2 separate regions of the Homo sapiens genome follow, and region 1 is linked to region 2. Evidence: promoter capture Hi-C in 16 types of primary human blood cells and fetal thymus (Javierre and others, 2016). All regions are on one chromosome and are shown on one strand. The core of a region is centred on a gene start or on the middle of the fragment in contact, and the rest is flanking DNA. Distances in the headings are between cores, read along the strand shown. Region 1 has its middle 86 kb from the start of PLSCR2. Region 2 holds the start of PLSCR5 (phospholipid scramblase family member 5).

The links. The method cuts DNA at HindIII sites, captures the fragments that hold promoters and counts their contacts. A CHiCAGO score of 5 or more calls a contact.
Region 1: a contact is called between a fragment that was not itself captured here and the fragment with the promoter of PLSCR5 in region 2, in 1 of 17 cell types (monocytes). The highest score is 7.0, in monocytes.

The regions. Positions count from the first base shown.
Region 1 is chr3:146,381,046-146,385,810 of GRCh38, forward strand. No RefSeq gene overlaps it. Among named protein-coding and RNA genes, the nearest start is that of PLSCR2, 86 kb to the right of the region's middle. The HindIII fragment of the contact is 7,777 bases long and covers 1-4,765 here.
Region 2 is chr3:146,602,549-146,607,090 of GRCh38, forward strand. PLSCR5 (phospholipid scramblase family member 5) reads right to left here and starts at 2,798. Exons shown (of 8, transcript NM_001085420.2): 1 at 2,652-2,798. The coding sequence starts at 2,664. The HindIII fragment of the contact is 8,012 bases long and covers 828-4,542 here.

The DNA of each region.
Region 1 (4,765 bases), core at 1,025-3,524, 220 kb before region 2:
GGGCAGATAGCTCTCCCTGAAGTTCAGCCGTGTCTTCCCCAAAATCAAGCCATCTCTTCATTGCCAAAGTCCAGCCATCTTGTCTCCAAAGTCAAGCCATCTTGCTGAAGTCAAGCTGCCTCTCTCCCTTTACTGACTAAGTCTAGGGTCTTTATAGGTGAAGGATAGGAATGGGTTAGGCCATAGGTAGTTTTGGAAAAGGCAACATTCGATTGGTAAAACTACATTATTCAGAAAATACTAATCAGGAGAGAATAGGCAAACAAGAATAGAAATTCTCATTTTGGGCCACAGGTTTCAGGCTACTTTGGCTTGAATGTGGGATTTCACTGGACATCTGCCCCTATCTGCCTAGAATTTCTCTGCCTCCTGCCTCTACTAATGGTACACAACAGCAAACATCACACAATGCAGGTAGGAACTCACAGGCTAAGGGTGAGCAGGAACACACGTCTCTGGCTTTGCAATAGTCTGGAGAGATGTGCTTAGACCATGGGACTGGGTGCTGACAGAGGTCATCTGCCTTCTGCTGCTGTCTATTTTTAATTGAGTAAGTATAGCAATGATGTTTCTCAGGGGAATAGATACTTTAAGGTTTGGAGAAAGTTTTCTAACGATGTGCTGGAAAAAGCCAGCTCTCTAGCACTTGGAGACGGTGAAGAAATTTGCTGGGCCACCCAGAGAGACTGCTCCAGCACTCCTTTTCTTCATATAATTAAAGGACAAAATATAAGTAACATATTGTTAAAATAGTAAAGCATTACATAAATTAATTGAGTCTCTCTCTGAATAGCAAAAGGTAATAATGAAATACTGAAATGAAGAGTACGATTTTCTGTGTGGAGATTATAAAACACACATGAATATTATGTTCTAAATCTTCAATAGATGACTTCTATTGAAGTATTTTATTCATTCATTTATTTTTAGAGATGAGGTCTCACTCTGTCATGCAGGCTGGAGTACAGTGGTGCAATCATACCTGACTCTAATCTCAAACTCTTGGGCTCGCAGGATCCTGCTACCTCCTAAGTCACTGGGATTACAAGCATAAGCCACTGCACTCAGCTATTTAAATATTTTAAAATCCAATCTTAAAATAATCTTTTTAACGGTGAATCTTTAGTGCACAACTGGGGTGAGTGGTGAAATCAATGGCCAAGGAAATTAAAATAATAATTGAAAATGAACAAATTGTTTTACTTTAATAAAATTATATTTCTAAAATCAGCAGCAATATTTGAAAGCCACTACTTTGGATACATTCTTTTTTAAATAATAAAATCAGTTTTTTGTATATTCAGCAGAAGAAAATTTACATGTATATTTGTATATAATATTGGAGATTAAGTGGAAGTTTTAATTTGCATGGCCATATTTCAATGAGGAAGTAGAAAATTTTACATCTTGTTCAATATACAGTAGGTAATATGTGATAGAGCTAGAACTCAGATCTGCATGTGCTGTAGTTCAAAGCTATGGTTTCTCATTCTAGAAATATTTAGCTTGCTACAGTACACAAAGCGATACTGCCCTCTGGCCACTGCTGGCTTCATAGGCCTGATTGCCAGGTAGTCACATAGGACCCTGTGCTTGCATTAATGTGCTGCTGTTTCCATCCTGAATTCTTAATAATATTTGAAGAAGGAACATCACATTTTAGTTTTCACTGAGCTCAACAAATTATGTAGCTAGTCCTGCTTCTGGAAAATATCTTAACATCTCTTAAAATAGTCTCTGTGTTTGTAATGAATGTGATACAACCTATTCTAATTAATAAGAAAAATTGTCGCTGGACAACCATAAGACTGATCCATTTCTTTTCATTATTGGTAAAACAGCTTTACCTCTCAGATATCAGTTTCTCTTACCTATGACAATTGCACTTATTGACCCCAAATGTGCTTGCTTGTTGCTGAAGAGCTCTCTACCCATAATGATGCTTTCTGAAAGTTCTCCAAAGGAAAATACTCTACTGAGCCCTTCTGTAGCTGCCTAGAATGCTCTTCATTTGGTTTATGCAAACCTCTTAGCAAACCACAGGGGCAGTTGCAACTTTCTCTAGTTTACTGAGGGGATACTTTGGCCCTTCTTGCATCTATCTTCAAAATACTAAGTCTATGGGAAAGAGAGACAAAGAGGTGTTAAAACACTATCGATAAACTATATCTCCTATCTAGAAAGAATGTACAATTTTGATCTCGTGGTGTTTCTGTAGCACATTATGTAAATGTCTTTAATAGCCCTATCACCTCGTAGAGTTGTTGTTGGTTTAATTGTGTTTCTCCTCCCCTACTAGGCTCCTTAAGTAGTAGGATACAGCCTTGATCATCTATTTTTTTTTTATCTTTAGAGCCTGAAATGTAGCCCAAACTTTCATGGAGTGTTTATTAAAATGAAATGAAATAAAATGCCAAAGTTCCCCCTTTATTCAATGACTTTGGCAGTATATATTTCAATGACAATTATGCATATTTTCAGGTGAGTTATGTAGAAACTTCCCCAAACTAAAACTAATGAATCCTCAAAACAGATATGTAAGTGCTTCATTACCTAAAAGCAATGTTTCCAATTAGTTTCTGCTTCTGGGTTTTATTTTCCCAATGTGATTTAGCTAATGTTTTAGCTAAAGAGAAAGTGATCCACTTATTAATGTCCTAGCATAAGATAAAGTGAAACACTATTAGCATAAATCTTTCTCCAATAGCATTTGACAAAAACCATTGATAATTAGGTAGGCAACTACAAATTGATTTGTCAGACAGCAGGATCATAAAATGCCTTTTGTCCTTTTCTCATTTGATTTTCTTTGTCCTGGAATACTGCACTTATATATGAAATTAGTGTCTCTTGAATGACACAATGTGATTGAGGCCATCTTCATTGTAACGAAATAATTTTTCTACATTAATAAATGTTTTATATATATTATAATATGTAATATATCTAAATTTATAGTTTCAGAACAATTTTTATAACTATATATAGTTTTATAAGTAATAGAATCAATCTTCAAACTCATTAATCAGGTTAATAAAAATCTCAGCAACTGAAAACTATAATTAAATTTATTCAATCTGATAAGAGTATCTAGATGTTTCAGTTACACTTATGGGTATGTTATTAATATGCATATTCCAAATTTGGATAAAACTCTTAGAAATCTAATATGTTATCCATCATAATTGTGGCTACCATATTGTATGCCACAAAAATAACTAAATTATCTTGTCAAATGCTGATTATAATAAACTTCCACCAGATTTTTAACCATGGCTATTCTAAGTTTTTGTCACTCACAGTGATTATTTTGAACTCTTCTCTGAAAGCATGTGCAATCAGATTCAAGGAAAGACTAACAAGTATTTGTATGTCCTCTTAAATATAGGTTTCTAATATATTTAAGATCAATGGGCAAAATAAATTTTTTTCAAAACTTTAATGAAGAAACTGATGGGTTCATAAAATTTCTAATCAAGAACAAGCAGAACAAAAATTAATTACATGAGATTGGACAACTAGTGAAGATAATGTTTTTATGACATTTAAAACATTGTTGACTCTTTATTAAATTTTTTTTCCAAATGTAAGAAATTTTTGTTCTCTCAAACTATTTGAACTTTACAGAAATTTGGTAAAATATACATCTGAAAACAAAGATAGAAGGAATTGCTTTTTCTCCTTCTTTGATTCCACCAAAATTCAAAAGTGTTCATGATTATTCTCATGACAATATGGTTATTTGCATAAGTCCAGTAAAAATCTGCTCTCTCTATATAGCAGGATACAATTGGAAACATTGTTTATATTACCAAGTCTTTGACTGAAATACCACTTTTGAGAATGCCTGGTTTCAAGGGTTCCTTACAGTACAGCCTTTTTATCTTCCTAGCAGATAAAAATGGTTACTTCTTGGCAGGCCCAGAAACCTTAAAGAGTGTATGTAAAATCTAAAGTCTGCCTTGGTTTGGCTTCCTAGTCTCAAGAGGTTTTCTGAGATTCCTTTATAATCAACATACAGGAAAAAACATATTTCCAAAGAAAAGCCACAATACATCTATTATCAAACTGTAGCCCTGTGCATTGTTTTCAAGTTCTTGCTATCTACCAATAGACTAGACTAGATCCTGGATTCTTTTACATTCTTCCAATCCAACTTTCTTTCATGGAGTTATTAAAATTGGGAACTGCTGTGTTCTTAATGCCTTATATGCTAAAACTACAATAATTTTAAGGAGCAAGACTTGTACCTATTGGCCACACAAAAAGTTTACCAAACCCACCTGATGCCATAACCAAGAGACACTCAAATTGCAAACCGGGACAAGAAGATGACATTTTCATGCAGTAGACAGTTTTCCACAGATGCCAGAGCAAGACTCCATGTCATAATGAGACTCTTACCCCTCTTAATGCCTACCTTTTTCACTTGGCAGGATAATAGATAATCTGATTCACTCAATTAGTTGCCTTTAAGTCTAGATTCATGGCTCTAAACCATTATGCAAATGGAGATTGTTATATGACTATTAATTTTACTTTGTATTTTCCATTTTTAAACTTTATATTTGCCACTTGTTAAAATTCTGCAGAAGTACAACTCTTAACAAAATAATACTGGCCCAGCTCTTTGAGATGATAGCAAAAGACTACAGAAGAGATGAAATTGAACTTAATAATGAACTCTAGGTAGGCTTAGCCTGAGAGCCACTTCCTTCAAACCACCATTGTTGTTCAAATGCAGTTAAAAGAGTTCTGACACTGA
Region 2 (4,542 bases), core at 1,548-4,047:
GGTCCTTATTTTAAAAATCATGGAGCCTAGGTTTTGTGCTCTATGTACTTCACTGCACATATTATCTCTCAATTAAAAACCATGTGTAGGGATTAATTTCTAACAATAGCTAGTATAAGATTTTTAGATTCTCTCTCATTGTAAACTTAATTGTTAAAGGGATTCACAAATTACCCCAATTTTATCTTGTAAATTATGTTTGCTGTAACAAAATGCAGTAGGTTATGGAGGGTTTGGCAAGTAGCTGTACATTCCCGCCCAGTCCTGGAGGGCCTTAGACTTCACAGCAAGTCCAGAAGCATTAATGCACTTGGAGCTCAGAGGATATTGTGTCCAAAGTCTTTATTTAGGAGTAGAGTGTGAGTGAGTCTCTGCCTGAGACTGTTGAGAGACATCACTATTCTGAGATCACTAGCTGCTTCTTCTGGGATTTTAGTTCACATTGAAGCAACCTTTGGAGACAGCTCTTGCTCAGTTCAGATCACCGTGTTTGAGAGCAACTTGCTCTTAAATTGTGTTAATTTCTACTAAGCCAGGATGCTCCAGCTCACACAAATGTCTCTTCAGTTCTAATGGCACCTGGTATTTAGACTGTCTTTTGGTTTAGTAGTGCTGATTGATCTGCCTATGAAATATGTGAAATGTACAATTAGTCTGCATTCCCTGGGAAAATGCTAATTGCCAATATAGTTACTGGACAAGAAAACATGATGTTATAAATAATGTGTTTATATACAGCTGAAGAAAACTATCCACAAAAATGTTTTACTTAGATAATGGTGATAATTTGACTTGCCCTCTTAAACAAGATATCTAATTCACAAGAAAGCTTCATTATCACTTATATTCTCCTAGGTAGTATGAAGTCTCTAATAGGTGTTTTATCCTTCCATGCATTAAATATTTTGAGCCGGTTGCAGAAGGAGGGTCAGTTTTCCACCTGAAGTTTTGCTTCTAAGTTTAGACTTGGGTCTTTATCATTATGGAACATCACTGCTTCCTGTTAGATTAATCATATTTTGACATAATATTACTTTCCAGTCACAAGTTTCTTCAAAGACTCAGACAACCAGATGAAGAAGGAACTCCTTTGAATTTCGTACTGGCTTTGAATTTCTATCTACTCTTTTAAAAATGTATAACTAGCTTATAAATATTTTATACACTCTGCAACTTTTTACCTTACAGTCTACAGTATTGCTGTAACTCTTATTTTATAAAGTGATGAAGTATTTTGGACTAAATAGTAGTGTCAGTCTTAAATGAAAGGAAATATTTGTCAAGGTTTTTTGTTTATTTGTCTTCAGATAGAAAAAAATGACACATATGTTAAATTCATGATTTTGCTATTTCACATCTATGTTTTACAATTTGTGTGAGCTTTCTCAGTGATTCTGAGGGACTGAGGGACTGGTCTACATTAAAGATTGATAAAAAATGGAAAGATTATCTCATTTGTTTCATATTAAATAGTGACCAAAAGTGTGTTTTGATAAAGGAAGCAAGTAAGCATACACATTTGTTTGAATGGATCACTAATTTAGGATATTACAAATTGATGAGCCCTATTATCCTATTTGTAATTAATTTAAAAGGTTTTCACCAATTATACTAATTATAATTCTTCATGCTAAAACTTTTCATTATAGCCTAGGCTTTAGTGGTTCATTCTGACAATGAAATGAAAGCACATTATAATTTTATTTCTTACACAGTTTCACAAGTGTTTTTAGTGAGATTGCAACTTACTTTAAAAACAACTACATCTCTTGTCTTTTTAGACCTTCTTTAAAGTAAGATAACGTAATGATATTTTTGCAGTTTTAGGAATTTGAGAAAAAACTCATCAGTCCTACTCCCCAAAAGTCTGCTAAGTGATCTGTGCGCTTAAAGCAGATATTTTCTGTTTGTTTTCTATCTTTAATTTACCATAAGGAAATTTCAAGATATTTTTGCTTTATAATTCAGAAATACTTATTTCTAGCCCATCACATTTAAGAATCAATAATAACGCATGTCAGATTCTTTATAATAAATGGCTATATCACATAATTTGAATAACAAATGGGAAAATAAAACTTAGAGAGTGTAACTGGATTGTCTGTAACTCAAAGGCTGAATGCTTGATGGGATGGATATCCCATTCCCCTTTATGTCCTTAATTCACATTGCCTGCTTGTATGAAGACATCTCATGTATCCCATAAGTATATATACCTACTATGTACCCACATAAATTTTTAATATTTTAATTAAAAAAATTATTAAATTGCACTTTAACACTTTCTAACTTATGTGTGAAAAGTTTTCTTCAAATCCTTTTAAACTTAAAATATCACCCTGTCCTTGTGTTTAACATTGAAGATTCCCATTCTAAACTTTGCTATGCAGCTTTTCTTATTAATTCACTATGTTTGTATTCATGATAACTAAAACATCGTTTACATCTGAACTTTTACAGTCTGTCAGATAAAGTGTTTTTACATGTAACTCAACATGCTCCTGGGAGTTAAGATTTTAAAATCACAATGTTCAAAAGTGACAAATGACAGCTTTTAAAGTACCAATCTAACTGGTTGTAACACATCCACAATTGTATATTTTTAGTCTTAATATAAGAAAAAGTTATTAGTTGGTTATATTTACTCTTACCTTTAGAGGCCATGAAGATGTCTGAGTCACTTCTTCAAAGGTTGCCAGGTTGGAAAACAAAGGCTTTTCTTGTTGCAGCAAGGAGAGAAAACGCAGCATGCACAAAACTTCAGAACGTGTTTGTCTGCCTCTTGTCAGCTTACATATAACAGAGGAAGGGAGTCCCTTGCTGTTTCTAGACTTCTGGACTTTATCAGTTTGGACAACAGAGTGAGATGAAACTGTCACAAAAGTAAACGCTGTTCAGAAACCATCATATAACTTTGGTGGCTGAAGGAACAATTTAAAAATAATAAAAACCAGAAAGGAAAGCACACAGCACTCATTTTAAGTGTCTTTTTTTTTTTTACCAAGTTGTTTTTGTATTTCTTAGAATATACACATTTGCATTCAGTCTTATATCAGAAATATCCTGTATTTCTCAATTTCTAGAAGTCTCCTTTCCAGATTCTGTGATAAAACATCCTATTGTATAAATTTTTGATAGTTCTAAATACAATTCTTTACATGTTGAAAATGTTTGAACATTATTATTGTTATTTTTCTATTGGATTTATCTCCATCTCTTCAACTCAAAATAAATAAGAAGAGGATATATTCCCTACTATTATATAAATAAATCTTTATTTTCATTTTTAATTGAATTTGATTAATCAGAGGCATTGGAATATACAAACCTTCAATAGCCTTGCAAAGCTAATCAAAATTTACAGATGATATTTAACTGCATTGAATTCTAAGGAAAGAAAACAAGTGCTGTAACCTTGACTGGACAGCTCCTATTTCTAAATGCAGCTACCCAGGTGACCATGGAGATTTTGCTCACCAAGTCAATTGCCCTACATGGTATGATTCACAAAGGTTGAACATGCAGGATATATTGCATTATCAGCAACACTGTCTTTTTCTGAAAATAGTTAAGAGGCTTCAGGAGGTATACCTTGTGATGAAAAATTATAAAGTCAACCTCACAGTTTGCAGACTGCCAAAAGTTTGAGTTTTCCTTATTTGACAAAGAGGAGTGGTTTTGTTGTTGTAGTTTTCTTAGTGTTTGGAGTTGAAAAAAGCTACCATTATTTAAGTTGTCGTTTTGCAGAAAAGATGTGTGAATATGATTAATATTTTTAAATTAAACTGTATGTTTCCTAAGTTTTTTCTAATGTTTGTCGTGAGCATTTAGAAAAACTTTAATACAAAAAATTAAGTTATTAACACTATCAAAGAAGATTAAAAAAATTTTTTTTATTATACTCTAAGTTCTACGGTACATGTGCACAACGTGCAGGTTTGTTACATATGTATACATCTGCCATGTTGGTGTGCTGCACCCATTAACTCATCATTTACATTAGGTACATCTCCTAATGCTATCCCTCCCCTCTCCCCCCACCCCACAACAGGCCCCGGTGTGTGATGTTCCCCTTCCTGTGTCCATGTGTTCTCACTGTTCAATTCCCACCTGTGAGTGAGAACATGCGATGTTTGGTTTTCGGTCCTTGCGATAGTTTGCTGAGAATGATGGTTTCCAGCTTCATCCATATCCCTACAAAGGACATGTACTCATCATTTTTTATGGCTGCATAGTATTCCATGGTGCATATGTGCCACATTTTCTTAATCCAGTCTATCATTGTTGGACATTTGGGTTGGTTCCAAGTCTTTGTATTGTGAGTAGTGCGCAATAAACATACGTGTGCATGTGTCTTTGCTCAGCAAAAGGAACTACCATCAGAGTGAACAGGCAACCTACAGGATGGGAGAAAATTTTTGCAATCTACTCATCTGACAAAGGGCTAATGTCCAGAATCTACAAAGAACTCAAACAAATTTACAAGAAAAAAACAAGCAACCCCATCAAAAAGTGGGTGAAGGATATGAACAGACACTTCTC